Regions from separate parts of the Homo sapiens genome. Here region 2 is linked to region 1. The links are contacts of gene promoters, found by promoter capture Hi-C in human tissues and cell types (Jung and others, 2019). All regions are on one chromosome and are shown on one strand. The core of a region is centred on a gene start or on the middle of the fragment in contact, and the rest is flanking DNA. Distances in the headings are between cores, read along the strand shown.

What was found. Contacts are between HindIII fragments. The study calls those that stand out against the background at their distance.
Region 2: a fragment that was not itself captured here is called in contact with the fragment with the promoter of ASB14 in region 1 in 3 of the 25 tissues and cell types used here (heart left ventricle, mesendoderm cells and thymus).

The regions. Positions count from the first base shown.
Region 1 is chr3:57,291,429-57,293,949 of GRCh38, reverse strand. It overlaps ASB14 (ankyrin repeat and SOCS box containing 14), which reads left to right and starts at 1,265. Exons shown (of 11, transcript NM_001142733.3): 1 at 1,265-1,317; 2 at 1,846-2,038. The coding sequence starts at 1,917. It overlaps DNAH12 (dynein axonemal heavy chain 12), which reads left to right. Exons shown (of 74, transcript NM_001366028.2): 74 at 1-250. The coding sequence ends at 169. It overlaps LOC124909384 (a long non-coding RNA gene), which reads right to left and starts at 1,159. Exons shown (of 2, transcript XR_007095923.1): 1 at 558-1,159. The HindIII fragment of the contact is 9,422 bases long and covers 1-2,521 here.
Region 2 is chr3:57,242,476-57,244,996 of GRCh38, reverse strand. It overlaps APPL1 (adaptor protein, phosphotyrosine interacting with PH domain and leucine zipper 1), which reads right to left. Exons shown (of 22, transcript NM_012096.3): 7 at 2,083-2,141. Among named protein-coding and RNA genes, the nearest start is that of APPL1, 16 kb to the right of the region's middle. The HindIII fragment of the contact is 4,279 bases long and covers 1-2,521 here.

The DNA of each region.
Region 1 (2,521 bases), core at 16-2,515:
GTCGGATGCCTATGTCTGTCCCCTCTACAAGACAAGTGAACGTAAAGGAACTCTTTCCACTACGGGACATTCTACTAACTTTGTCATTGCAATGTTGTTAAAAACAGACCAACCTACTCGGCACTGGATCAAGCGCGGGGTTGCTTTGCTTTGTCAGTTGGATGACTAAATTGGACAAATTTATAAAACATCCAAAAGTTTAAAAAAAAAAAAACCTGTCCTACTTAAAATATATACATTATAAAACCAAGTGTTTTGGTGTTATTCTTTTAAATGATCTTTGCAAACACTCATTGCATTGTTCTCCTTTCTGAGGAGAACTTTTTGAAGTTTGATTGTATGTGAAAAATAGATTTGGGGGTTAAACGGTAACATTTAACAAATATCAGGAATTATCTCCTTCACAAATGTTAAGTCATTCCTTCAGCTTCAGTATAGTTTACTTTCCACTCTCCTACCTAAAGTAATTATACATAAATATTTCAAATACATAAATTAAGAAATTATAAATATGGAAAATATTAAAAGTTACCCAACTATACCTCTTTATTTCTTACCTCTAAGACATCGGTTCCATTTCTCACTGCATCCTTGTGACTAGGAAAGGAAACTCAAAGCTGCGAAGTTGGCCTGCAAAGGCAGTAGGATGGCTTGAGGGCAGTCCGAACTTCTACACCTGCAGTGACAGTGTGCTTCTCGGCATTTGCTTCATATTTAATTTGAAATGTCAAGTGGTCCCTTTGCTTTTTTTAGTGTATATTAACAATTTAAAAATATTTCAACAAAACAGAATTTTGATCAAAATTTTATCTTGTGTAGAGTGAATTCTTCCCTTAGGATTCCAAGGACACTGAAGGCCACAGTTCTGTAACCCAAGGAAAATGTAGTCACAGCTACCTAGTGAATCTAGTACATTGGGACAGTCACTTTGGATAATTGGGTCAGAGCAAAATGTTTGGGTTCTCTTAAGTGAAAAATTGATTGTGGTTTGCAGTGGCTATGTGCATGAATTCTCTTTGCATGGCCAACCCCCTGCAAAAGCATTTTATTCCAGGAATAAAATATTTAATCCTTTAAATTTGATGAATGTAGCACTGAAGAAAAGAGATCATGTTTCCAAAAAGAGCTAAACCACATGTAAAAAACAAGGAGAATGTGCCAAACTGTCTTATGATGAAGTATTTATAGTAAAGCTATTAATGGAATGGTCACTACAGGGGAGAGGAGAGCCTAAATATAAATGAAAATTCTGAGGCTTACATGTGTTAGTCCTTAACAGTGAAAACTTCACTGCTGTCCTAGAGGATAAAACAAAAGGTAAAAAGTCTTTGAAATGTGACCAAATGTATTCTATGCTAAAACTGACATTTTTCTTTTAAAACCATTTAGATATTGCCTAGTAAGATACATTTGTTTTTACTACTGCTGTATCCATGTTGTAATTATGAGAATACATTTGTTCCTATAACATGTTTATTTTTAATGTATATTAAGTAAAATATTATTTTCAGCATCACACTGTGTGTAGGAAAGATATTATTTTGGATGAGTGCTACAATCACTGTGAAAGACTCACAGCCAAGTTGAACAGATCAGAGTGTTGTCAGTGTTAGAGTGGCACTAACCGAAGTCTTATTTGAAAGGTGGTTTTTCCTGAATAAGCTTTAAGTCAATGGCTACTCATGGAAACTTCTAATTTTTGTTGAATCTGTGGCAGTCCACAAAACTTTTTTAAGTTTATAGAAATTTTTTAGTGAATATTTTGTTTCCTAAATTTTGTATATTTTTCATTGTTAATCCTACCAATTTTCTAGATTTCTGAATTTCATTTGTAATTTTAAGCAGTTGATCTCTTCACAACTGGAAAAATACTTTTAATTCACTCTGACTTTAAAGTAAACCTGTCCACGTTTCACATGGATAATTACACCAGCGATGAAGACATAGATGAAGACTTTGACACCCAGCTCATCATTCAACAGAGTTTGCAGGATATTTATAAGCCAGGAACAGCACAACATGCACCTAAGGATGAGAGGTAATGGTTTTCTCATCGGCAATATAGTATTAAGTGTTGTATTCAACAGCTGACACTTGTCATTAGCTTAACTCTAGTGTTGTGACAAAAACAGGAGGGTCAGAATCCAAGGAGCTGTCAATTAAATATCTGTAAGATATTATGCCTAACTAGACAGGAATAATCTGGAAATAATTCAGAATTTAATTAGGCAATAAAAATATCTGAAGGAGGTTAGCAGCAAATCTGGGTGAGGTGATACAGACTGGAAATCAGAAGAAAGAAAGGAGGATATGAAGGGCTAGAGAAAAACTAATACATCTTGTCTTTGGGAATTGAAGAAATGCATAAATCCAACCGGGACACATAGAAAGTTAGTTATCTTCAACCTTAGTAGGGTAGGTGGGGATGGGGTCCAGTCTTTGATCTACTCAAATCAAAAGGAGGAATTACATAAACTTGAACAAGGCTTCTGAAAGTGTAGATTCAGAGTTTTGTTGGACA
Region 2 (2,521 bases), core at 12-2,511, 49 kb after region 1:
ACAGGATCCATCCAGACATCCAAGAAATCTAGGACTCATTTTTTATTCCTCCTATTACCACAAGTCTTGTCAATTCTACTTAAAAAAATATCTCCCAAAAGTACTCCTTCCTCTCCATTTTCAGTAACAACCTTAGCTGAGGCCTTCATTGTATCTCTGCAAACTATTCCAATTCCTTTCACTGGATATCCTCTAGTCTTGTCCTCTTCACATTTTCATTAGTATGTTTGTTCTATAACACAATTGCATGATGTTATTCACCTACTTAGAATCCTTTGGCGGCTGTCCACTCCCTCTAACACAAATTTCAAGGTCATTAATATAGTAATCTGGTACTAATATACTTCTTACTCTTTCTGCCATATCTCCTAACATTTCCTTTATTGTCACAGAGTACTCTTAATCTTTACACTCTCCCAACTCCACCATGTGCCTCTGAAAGGCTGTTTTTCTTTCAGGAAAGCACTCTCTCCGATTCCAAACTGGTGTTATCCACTTATCTTTAATGTAAATGTCACCTTCTAAAAGTGTAACCTTTGCTGGCCATGTGTGGTGGCTCAAGCCTGTAATCCCAGCACTTTGGGAGGCCGAGGCAGGCAGATCACCTGAAGTCAGGAGTTCGAGACCAGCCTGGCCAACATGGTGAAACCCCACCTCTACTAAAAATACAAAAATTAGCTGAGCATAGTGGCTAACACCTGTAATCCCAGTTACTGGGGAGGCTGAAACAGGAGGATCACTTGAACCCAGGAGGCGGAGGTTGCAGTGAGCCGAGACGGAGCCACTGCACTCCTGCCTGGGAGACAGAATGAGGCCCTGTCTCAAAAAAAAAAAAAAAGTGTAACCTTTCCCAATTCACCAATCAAAGTGAACTGCTGCCCTCTCTGTGCTCTCTCAGCATTTTATTAAAACCCCTATTATTGTATTTAACTAATAACAGAGTTAATTCATGCCTTCTTGTCATCCTTGTACTCTGGTTCCTAGTCCACCTGCATGCCTTCACACAGGTAGCCTTCAATAAATGTGGAGTATCCAGTCTTTGAGGGCAGGAGTGAAGCCTATTCATGTTGTTCCCCCAAGGTACCCAACAGACTGCTTGACGTATATTAGGTGCTCAATGAATTTTTAAATAAAATGAAGTTGGTGACAGAGTGTTTTTTAAAATACTTTGAGCAGCCAGAAGTAATGTAAAATATATCAAATTTTATACCCAGAGCCTTTAACTACTTCTCTAAGGCCAAGTGACTAATAGAGATCTCAAATGTATACATTTTATCAATACACCATTAAGTAGTAGTCTGCAGCTAAAATTAGAAACGAAAAGGAAATCAATCTTTGTACTAAACTTTGTGTGAGAAACATTTCCTTTGTCACAGTAGCTGTTGCACAGTAAATCCTACCCAACTGTGGATTCCCACAAGCAGTCACTGTGTTTCCACCAGCAGCTGCAGCCAAGGCTGCAGACACCAACACCCAGGCACAGAGATCACCTCAGTCACAAGCATCTAGAAAGACCTACACATCAAGCCTTGGACTAGATGCTGGAGAAAGACATGATCTTAAGGCACGCCCAAAAAAACCTGTTAATACTCTGTACTCTCATCTTTACTTGAATGCATTTCTCCTCAAATATAGTGTAATATTTCTGTATTTCACTCCTTGAACAAATATCAAAAGATATATATGTCTATAAATAAGGAGGGCCTCATAACAGAATTTCATTATGTGTGTGACCACTCTATCTCAGAAGACATTTTTGAACACACCTATATATTCAAACAGAACCAATGCCATGTCATCAAAATACAAAGCAACAAAAGGCAATGTTATATACTGGGCATCAGTTAAATTTCCAGAATAGTTATATTTACTTATAACATCAAATTTTGGCAGAAGAAAATATTTTGTTTAAAGAGGTCAATGATTATCAGAAAGGTTTTGAACAGCTAGAAGGAAAGAATAAACTAATAGTAATATAACAAAACATACAAAGTAACTGCTGGCTCTATTTTGATAGAGGAAAAACTAAACCACCTAATGAATAGTTAATTATGACACTGAAGGAATAAATATGTACCACACCTTGTCATTTTCTCTTTTTTTTGATAAACGGCTATATCTATTAATCGCAGCATCATGATCTGGAAAAAAGAAATGAGTGTTAACAATACAACAGTACTTTTCAAAACTTACAAATGCTTTCAATGGTCTTCACATGTGCACCTTTCCACAAACGTACTAAAGCAAGAATTTCCTACCACATGACCACTGCACTCAATTTTCCCCACAGCCAAATTTCCCCTAAATTATGTGTCTACTTCTCAAATTGGTTTTTAAAAAATTAATTCCAAGGAAACTAATGCACTAAAGCTTTTTAAAGTATTTTCTAGTACAAAAATAGCAAACGCAGCTTAGACACAGTGGCATATGCCAATAGTCCCAGCTACTCAGGAGGATGGGGCAGCAGGATCACTACAGTATGCTATGATTGTGGCTTGAAAAGCCACTGCACTCCAACCTG